Regions from separate parts of the Homo sapiens genome. Here region 1 is linked to region 2. The links are contacts of gene promoters, found by promoter capture Hi-C in human tissues and cell types (Jung and others, 2019). All regions are on one chromosome and are shown on one strand. The core of a region is centred on a gene start or on the middle of the fragment in contact, and the rest is flanking DNA. Distances in the headings are between cores, read along the strand shown. Region 1 overlaps NR5A2 (nuclear receptor subfamily 5 group A member 2). Region 2 holds the start of NR5A2 (nuclear receptor subfamily 5 group A member 2).

Region 1 (5,171 bases), core at 1,574-4,073, 130 kb after region 2:
GTAAGCATGATTAAGAGTACTTTTGTGGGAGTGTGCTATTGCCAGCCTCACAGATGGTGTTATTTCCTGTGTTAGACTTCCTACTTACTGATAGCTGGGCTCACACTTGACATCCTCTCTTAACTGCCTCTAGACCAAAACATGCAAAGTCTTGCAGTGTGGGAGGGAACCTGTGGCTGTGCATTGGGTTCAGTTGATAACAATAATCACCAGCCCTGATGAGTCACCAGAGAGCAATGGGGTGATACTCAAGTACCAGAGAGATGGTGGTGGTCTCTGGTGGCCCCACCACTGTCCACCACTTGCAAGTAGATAAACTGGTCATTAAAGGAGCTGTGGAGAGCCAGATGCAGTGGCACATGCCTGTAGCCCCAGCTACTGCAGAGGCTGAGGCAGGAGGAACACACAAGGCCAAGAGTTTGAATCTGACCTGGGCAACATAGTGAGACCCCTATCTTTAAAAATAAAGAAATAAGTAAATTTTTAAAAAGAAAGGCATTATGAGAGTTTCAGCAGAACATTTAGGAAGGGTCTTCTAGAGATAATGATGGACAAGTCAGTAAGCTGCTTGTTCACACACTAATGTCCAGTTCATGTTGACTGCTATCTACCCACGTCTTCTCTTCTGGCACCTGCCTTAGTGGCTGGAAGCTCTCTCAGAAGCTTAAAAAGATGCTTTTATTTTACCTACCCAACAAGGTTTCTACGCATTCCAGCCTCCAAGGAGGGGTGGTTCCCCTTTGTGAACTGAGATTTAGGAATATCTATGTTTACAACTCCGGGACTAAGATTCAATAAAGCTTCAGGAGGGTGGAAGTGCAGCTTGTGAGGGCAAAACTTTAGAATCCAGTGGACTTCTTAAGGTCATCTGAACAGTGAGAGTAAGTACTAGGCTCTTATCCCACTTCCACCACCAACCAATGCAGAAGTGGGATTAAGATTGATAATCCTGAGATAGCATTAAATGTTTTGATACAGGCATGCAATCCATAATAATCACATCAGATAAACAGTTGTTCTGTGCACACAATCTAACATTTATGCATTTTTTCTTTAAAAAACCTTTCTGCATCCAAATGGCACATTCATTAAGTTTAAAATGAAGCACAAAAGATAGAGATAAAATGAAGCAACTCTATAATTATATAAATTATAAATCTTACTGTAATAATTATACAGTAGACTTGGAGAAAGACAGGCCTTTCAAGAATTGGTTTTTAGAGATGTGTCTAATGCCTTAAAGAAGTGTTTGCTTTAAAATCTTGAAAAAGCCTCATGTAGAAGTGAGATGTTGTAAAGTCATCATTGGCTTTGGCCACTGCCAGGTCGACTACCAGTTTGCTATTTGTGATGTATTTCACTATTTTGGAACTTACAAAGCTATTCCTGATTTCCTTCTGTTAATGGAGGATTAATGACAATGCTGAATCCACAGATAATAATAAAAAAATTTTTTTTTTTTTTGGACAGTCTCACTCTGTCACCCAGGCTGGAGTGCAATGGTGCGATCTTGGCTCACTGCAACCTCCACCTTTTGGGTTCAAGCGATTCTCCTGCCTCAGCCTCCCAAGTAGCTGGGATTGCAGGTGCCAGCCACCATGCCCAGCTAATTTTTGTATTTTTAGTAGAGACGGGGTTCCGCCATGTTGGCCAGGCTGGTCTCGAACTCCTGACCTCAAGTGATCCACCCGCTTAGTCTCCCCAAGTGCTGGGATTACAGAGGTGAGCCACCGCGCCTGGCCCAAAAATCAAATTTTCAACAGTTACTTAAATCCACTACTTCCCAAGATGAAAGCTTTATTACCAACTGAAACTTAGAGAACTATGAGTGGTCGTGGGCTGCCTCTGAACTTGCTGTGGGTATATTTACTGAGCCACCATGGGGGTCATGTGAAGAGTCTAGGGTTTTGTTTTACATCCTTAACACTTCAGTTTTGAAAATCCCTATAAGACAGTAATAGTTCTATAGGGTAAACTCCAAAGAGGGCTTCTGTAGGGGGCATAGGAGTGGCACCCACAGTTGTGGGAACGTCAGCAAACCTGCATCCTCCCTCAGGGGAGAGGTCAGAGCAACTCAGAATATTATGACTACTGAAACAACTTTTTGACTTCACGATGCTGCAAAGCAATCCACATCCAGTAGAAACCATACTTCAAGTACCCATACAACCATTCTGGTTTTTCTGAGACGGAGTCTCACTCTGTCACCCAGGCTGGAGTGCAGTGGCGTGATCTCTGCTCACTGCAACTTCTGCCTCCCGGGTTCAAGCAATTCTCCTGCCTCAGCCTCCCAAGTAGCTGGGATTACAGGTGCCCCCCCACCACACCCGGCTAATTTTTGTATTTTTAGTAGAGAGGGTGTTTCACCATCTTGACCAGGCTGGTCTTGAACTCCTGACCTCGTGATCCACCCGCCTCGGCCTCCCAAAGTGCTGGGATTACAGGTGTGAGCCACCGCACCTGGCCCATTCTGTTTTTTAGTTTCAGTACAGTATTCAATAAATTACATGAGATACTCAACACTTTATTATAAAATAAGTTTTTGGTTAGATGATTTTGTCCAACTGTGGGCTAATGTAAGTATTCTGAGCACATTTAAGGCAGGCTAGGCTAAGCTATGATGTTCAGAAGGTTAGGTGTAGTAAATGAATTTGTGATAATATTTTCAACTTACGATGGGCTTATTGAGACATAACCCCATCGTAAGTTGGAGCATCTATATTGCCGACATCTTAACAGAGCCGCTCTCTGTATATGCTGACTGATACATTAGGCTTGGGATAAATCATATCTGACCTTTCCTTATAATAGCACTGGGTGGACTTCAAAGGTGGAAGAGATATTTCTTGTTCAATTAAGTCATCATTGCAGAAAGATGAAACAGATGATACTTTATAAGCCAGGCACTGTCCTACCTTGTGGTAATTCCTATTAAAACACATTTAAAAGATTAGGAAACTGAAACTTAGAGCAATTTACTAATTTCAATGTCTTATGGCCAGTGCAGTGTTCACGGATTTAAAATCACTTCAATGCAAGTATCAATAATTCTGCTAAATAATCAGGAGTTGACTATAATTAATCTGCAAAAACCAAACAATTTTCCCCACTTGAATTAATGATTTCTGGGTGTGAAAGGGAATGGTCACCACATAGTCTTAGTTTCCTTCCATGCAAACCTTAGAATTGAGCATAGCACTTACGAAACCAATATGATCAGATAATAAGATATCTTACTATTATCACTGTCTTAGCAAAATCTGTCATTACACTGAAAAAAAAATAGGATAGCTTCTTTTGCAAATGTTTCAAGCTCCAAAAGTTCTTAGAATAATCTTTCTTGTTATTTTCTCTGCCACATGGTTACACAAATACAAAACAAATTGGAAATATGGATTTTCTGTCTTTCATATACAAATACATATCCCTGAGCAATTGAATGAATTATTAATTTGTTTTGTCCAAAAATGGATAAGTATTTGGCTTTAATGATCTTGTTAGGCAACTAGTTTCCCTTCCCTTATAGTTCTCAACTCCAGAGACCCTCTCTTTTCATTTTTCAAGCAAATAATTCAGAATCAGTGTTGATCCACTGCATGATTTTTCCCCCTTCATTTCAACCTCTGATCTTACTGAGCAGAATTTTAATAGCTAAGGGAAATGATGTAATAATAAGTAACAAGTATATCTAGCTCTTAAAGAGTAGCTTTAATTTAACTCTACAAACTCATAAAATATTGGATATTTAGAATGAATGTAGATAGTAACAGTTCTCATATGGGCATAAAATTGCAAGAATTTTACTGATTGTGATGTATTACTTTTAGCACAAATAGAATGTACCAAGTACAATAAACTTCACTAATTCAGGACATTTCAACTTGGCAACAAAAAGCTCAATTTATATGTACTTAAAGAAATGCAATTTTAGTAACCTCAGTCTAATGCTTAATTAAAGTAACATGTTAACACAGTGGGGCACAATTAAAAAGGAGTTGGGAGCATCAGCTATAATATTCAAATACCTAGTTTTTTTCCAATCCAATTAATCTATTTTGTGTGTCTGTCTCAGAAAGGATAGTACCAGACCTGCCAAAGGTGTTGGCGGGAGTGAGATAAAGTAGATGCAAGGGGTTTAATAAAAATTCAAAGAATGACATAAATATAAAGTATTATTCTCAGAGATTACAATTCACAATTAGCCTGCATTTTATAAAATACCTCTAAAACATCTTCAACATTTAAAAATTGGATGTTAAAATTGGTGATACATTAATAATACTCTTCATTCCTTGAATTTCTGATTCTGTTGCTGACTTTAGATAGAATTTATTTTTCATCAGTTACATACTCAAAGGCTAAAACAGGAAGGCATTCTTTTTTGAGACAAAGTCTCACTATGTCACCCAGGCTGGAGTGCAGTGGCGTGATCTCAGCTCTCTGCAACCTCCACAGAAAGGCATTCTTTAAACTTCTTATCCAAAATAAACCCAAATACAATTTCCGAAGTAGCATAGAGTTCAAGTTGCTGAGTCTTACCTAGTGAACCATCAGCCAACACTGTAGAACATCATGGTGCTGCCATATAGTGTATTTCTTGCTGTTAGGAAAGCAAAATTCCCTATCCTATTCTGCATTCTGGTATTGACCTGACCTTAATATGTTTGATTCTTTTTTTTTTTTTCCTAATAGGGACAGGGTCTCTGTCACCCAGGCTAGAATGGCCCGATCACAGTTCATTGCAACCTCAAACTCCTGGGCTTAAGCAATCCCCCCGCCTCAGACTCCTGAGAAGCTGCATGCCACCACACCCAGCTATTTTTTTTTTTAATTTTTAAATTTTTTGTCAAAATGGGATCTCACTATATCAGACTGGTCTCCAACTCCTGGCCTGAAGCAATCCTCCTGCCTCAGCTTCCCAAAGTGCTAGGATTACGGGTGTGAGCCACTTACTGTGTCTGGCCATGTATTTGATTCTTTTAAAATCATGAATACTTGTTCTTTCAAACAACAAATATATTATAGTCATATCTTGGTTTCCAATTTCTGTTTAAATTAACAAGATGAGAATTGAGGCCCAGGGAATCAGAGGTTCTCCAGATGTTTCCCTTCATTCACATCTAATCCTACCCCTCCACAGGAGGTATGAAACCAACTCATTGCAAAGATGT
Region 2 (4,944 bases), core at 970-3,469:
TAAAAAACAAAAGAGAAAAAAAAAAGGGCCTGGTGTGGTGGCTCATGCCTGTAATCCCAGCACTTTGGGAGGCCGAGGCGGGTGAATCACCTGAGGTCAGGAGTTCGAGACCAGCCTGGCCAACATGGCAAAACCCCATCTCTACTAAAAATACAAAAATTAGCCGGGCATGGTGGCACGTACCTGTAATCCCAGCTACTAGGGGGGCTGAGGCAGGAGGATTGCTTGAACCTGGGAGGCGGAGGTTGCAGTGAGCCAAGATTGTACCACTGCAGTCCAGCCTGGGCAATGGAGCAAGACTCTGTCATTAAAAAAAAAAAAAAAAAAAGGACTGGCCTGGGTTTACAGGTAGCTCACACCTGTAATCTGAGCACTTGGGGAGGCTGAGGCAGGAGGACTGCTTGAACCCAGGAGACCAACCTGGGCAATACAGCAACACACTGTCTCTACAAAACATTTAAAAAATTAGCTGGGTGTGGTGGTACACATCTGTAGTCCTAGTTACTCAGGAGGCTGAGGCAGGAGGATTGCTTAAGTCCATGAGTCTGAGGTTGCAGTGAGCTATGACTGTGCCACTCCATTCCAGCCTGGGTGACAGAGTGAGATCCCATCTCTAAATAAATTAATAGACCATAAATTCTGTAATGTGAATCTTTAGACAAAGACTGCTAAATCTATCATCTGATATATGAAGTTTTATTACAACAAATGTTTATATATTGAGTTAAAAATTATCTGTACCCATACACACAACCTGCATTTACTTAATTTAAAAGGAGTGTCAATATTAAAATTGAGGATTTTGGCCAGGTGCGGTGGCTCACGCCTATAATTCCAGCACTTTGGGAGGCCGGGTAGATCATTTGAGGTCACAAGTTTGAGACCAGCCTGGCCAACACGGTGAAACCCCGTCTTGACTAAAAATGCAAAAATTAGCCGGGCATGGTGGTGTGCCCCTGTAATCCCAGCTACTGGGGAGGCTGAGGCGGGAGAATTGCTTGAACCCGGGAGACAGAAGCTGCAGTGAGCCGAGATCGTGCCACTGCACTCCAGCCTGGGCAACAGAGCGAGAACCCATCTCAAAAAAAAAAAATTGTTATTTTGTTGTTATTGTTGTTTTTGAAGACAGAGTCTCACTCTGTTGCCCAGGCTGGAGTGCGGTGGCATGATCTTGGATTGTGTTCTTCCAGGGTTGCAGAGAGAAGTGCAACAGCGTCTCATTGCAACCTCTGCCTCCCAGGTTCAAGCAATTCTCCCGCCTCAGCCTCCCAAGTAGCTGGGATTACAGGAGTGCACCATCACACCCAGCTAATTTTTGCATTTTTAGTAGAGATGGAGGTTTCACCATGTTGGCCAGGCTGGTCTCGAACTCCTGACCTCAGGTGATCCGCCTGCCTTGGCTTCCCAAAGTGCTGGGATTACAGGTGTGAGCCACCATGCCCAGCCTAAGAATAATAACTTTATAACTATGAAAAATGTGTTACATATTCACCATTTTGCCAGCATTAATCTCAAAGCATAAGTTTTACCTTTTGGGGATAAAGAGATAGATTGTGTTTTAGCCATATGACCAATGTAGAAACAAGCTAAGGTTAACTCCTCATCTAATGAATAGGCCCGATAAAAAAGTTGGTTGACCACAACATGAATAAATAAATAACCATAAGCTTGGAAATGCTACCTGTAGTATTTCAGAGTGTCGATCACATTTGTAGTCATCACTTAAAGAATTAATGTCTGCCAATGTTATCATCTAAAATGTATTTACAGAGGTCAGAAGAGCTATGTCTGTCCTCCTCTATGCAAAGAGGTGATGACATCAAGGGGTATGTCACAAGCCAAAGTTTAGTTAGCCTAAGTTAGTTAGCTGGTTTGCAGTTTTTATCCACTAAGTCTGATCTTCTGACCCCTCAGTTTTACAACTTTCCACTCTCTGTGCTGCATAGCACCTCTCCACTTCTGAGTTAATCATTTCTTTGCCATTATCTGGCAAGAATTCTTATCTCTTTTGCTGTCACTTTATAACAGGGTCCTCTTATCAACCTGCATAGAGTCATGTGATGAGTCAAAGCCTATCAAAAGTTTCCATTCTTCTGATTAGAAACCATCATGAAACTGGATACATGGTTTACAGCAGGTCACTAATGTTGGAAAAAGTACAGAGTCCAGGGAAAGACTTGCTTGTAACTTTATGAATTCTGGATTTTTTTTTTTCCTTTGCTTTTTCTTAACTTTCACTAAGGGTTACTGTAGTCTGATGTGTCCTTCCCAAGGCCACGAAATTTGACAAGCTGCACTTTTCTTTTGCTCAATGATTTCTGCTTTAAGCCAAAGAACTGCCTATAATTTCACTAAGAATGTCTTCTAATTCAGATACTGGGGATTTACAAGAGTCTTTAAAGCACGGACTTACACCTATTGGTAAGTAGGAGTTTCTCTATTGATCATCTATTTATTCTGCTACTACATACATATAATTTAATCTTGTTGATGGATTTTGCATTTTAAGTCATGGCTTTTCCTATTATGTTTATTAAAAGCACACAATAAGCCTATGTATATATATCACACATTTATCTTTCTTGCAGTTCAAAAAAAGCAAATGGATATTTCAACATATGAATATTATTCATTATATCTAGTGTTTACTGGTGTCATTCTAATACCCTAATCAGCCAGAAAATATAATTTATACTTTATCAATTTCAACTTTAATATTTTCTGATAATTTTTAATCAGAAATAATAAGCTAAAATTTGAACAATTTGAAACAAGTTAATCATATTGAGTGATCATTGATCAAACTTTAACAGATAGCTGTCAAGTATTTGTTACTTTTCAACCCACACAAAAGTATGGTGTCTTATTCTCTGCTTATACCGTAAAAAATTTTCATTTTATTTTCCTGGGGAATGAAAGTCATGCCCCCACCTCCAAAAAAAAAAAAAAAAAACCAAAAAAACTAGACCATCATTAGTAAAGGATTTGAAGAGCTACTGTTTCTCGCAACAATTAGTATATTTTGTTTTTACAAACAGAAATAAGTAAATAAAGCTACTATTCATTTAAAAAATAGAGTTACAAACTTATGAATTTTATAGCAAGACTACATTCAATTAATTCTAAAAGTAAAGGACTGAAGGGAAGTGATTCCCAGTGATCTGTAATTATTTGTCTGTTGGAAGTCAGGCCCTTCTGCCTTTCCCCAGTTTTTGAAGGACCTGTGCCTTTTCTGGCAGCATTTGCCTAGGCTTTCAGACTGGAATTTCCCTCCGAATTTGCAGGGGCCTGTCATGAGCTCTCTGAGTCTCAGCTCCATTATAACAAGAAAGAAAATCAAGGCTTGAGTTTTTCCTCTTTTTTCCTTCCTAGTCAGCTGACTCCACAGAATGCAGTGGAGTCACAGATTGCTTTTTTTATGGGCCAACTACACCCTAAAGTATATCACTTGAGGAAATGTTTACCAAAAATGTTCTATACTTACGAAAAAGAAAACATGGGGAAGGTAAGCAGGGTGTAACACACAATCAATTGTTCTGCAGATAACACAGAAAATACAGGCACAAGAAAGATGAGAGAGCAGCACACAACCATTTCGCATCTTTTTCGTCGGGCAGAACCGCCGCGGTGCGCAGGCAAGGAGTCCTTCCCGGCAGCTCCGCGCAGCTCCGGTTCCGCGTCCGGGGCCGCAGCTAGAGCGCGCTCGGGCCGGAGACGCGGACTGCGCGCGCACGGGGGACGCGCGCTCGGGGGCTCGCGCCCGCGCGGGCGGTCTTGGGCTCCTGCTGCGCGCAGCCCCAGCTGGCCGCTGCCAAAATAGAGTTGAGCTGGGTCGGGAGACCACGCACGCCGATCCCTCACAGTCTCCCCCACACCCCATGGGTGAATTAAAGAGGGTAAGGTAGGGGAAAGAGACGCTGTTGCACTTTTCTCTGCAACCCTGGAAGAACTGTGTTTCCAGCTACCGCACGCGCAACTCACATCGCAAGGGACCGAGGCGGTACACTCTGAGCGTAAACAGAGAACACCTGCAGCTCTGGAATCGGTCCCACCGCAGAGGGCTGGGAACCGGAGGACTGTCGGTCCAGCCCATAAGGGGCTGCTGGGGACTAAACCTCAAGAAAAGTACCGAAGAAGGCTCTCCCCTGGCCTCAGCGAGACTACCCCAACATCCTAAACCTGTGCAGGCACTTCCGGGCGCCGGATTCCGGGATAACAAAATTCCAGTCAATTTGCCGGTAAAAGAGACCTCTTTCAGGATCTTGTTCGCAGCCACCCGCCCCTTCCCAACCCAAGCACATCCCCTCCGCCTCCTGGTATTGCAGCCCCGCAGGTGGTTGTGAGGTGTCCGCACCTGCAACATCTTAGTGACCCTGAGGCGGCTGTGGCACCGGGAGACAATCTGTTTACCTCGTAGCCTCCACGAGGGTGCTAACGGTCGTTCCCAGGGTGAATGGCTGGACGGAGCCATCCAAAGGGCTGAGGGAGAGGAACAGAGGGCGGTGAGGAGCCTTCGGACTGAACTATTGGATTGAAGGGCCTGACCCGATTCCTGAGGGAGAGATGCCCCTTGAATGGGTCTTTCTGATTGCCCAGGGTAGCCCCACTGGGAAGAACCCACGGGTGCAGCTGTAGAGAGTGTCTGAGGGTCTCGAGGGTAGCTTTCAGATGGCAAATTGCAAGTTGGGCTGTGTTGAGTGGTTCACAAAACCGAGCCCGGTGTATGTAGACATCAGTCAGGGTTTACAATTCTATATTTAATTCAGTTGTGTTGTACTAGGAAATGAGCCTCCTTTTGTTTAAAAAGCTGTCTCCATGGTTTTTAACTAGGGGCTACATCTTGTATGCACACTGATGGTTACATGAAAGTTTTGTATAGATGTCTGTGCTTGTATAGAAAAGCAGAATTAAGATAAAGTTGTTCCTTCTGCCTACCTGCAAGAT

The links. The method cuts DNA at HindIII sites, captures the fragments that hold promoters and counts their contacts. A contact is called where the count stands out against the background at its distance.
Region 1: a fragment that was not itself captured here is called in contact with the fragment with the promoter of NR5A2 in region 2 in 1 of the 25 tissues and cell types used here (small bowel).

Annotation. Positions count from the first base shown.
Region 1 is chr1:200,154,231-200,159,401 of GRCh38, forward strand. All of the region lies in intron 7 of NR5A2 (nuclear receptor subfamily 5 group A member 2), which reads left to right. Among named protein-coding and RNA genes, the nearest start is that of NR5A2, 130 kb to the left of the region's middle. The HindIII fragment of the contact is 3,052 bases long and covers 1,298-4,349 here.
Region 2 is chr1:200,025,491-200,030,434 of GRCh38, forward strand. It overlaps NR5A2 (nuclear receptor subfamily 5 group A member 2), which reads left to right and starts at 2,220. Exons shown (of 8, transcript NM_205860.3): 1 at 2,220-2,421. The coding sequence starts at 2,358. RefSeq lists enhancers at 3,884-4,384, 4,385-4,885. The HindIII fragment of the contact is 6,457 bases long and covers 1-4,944 here.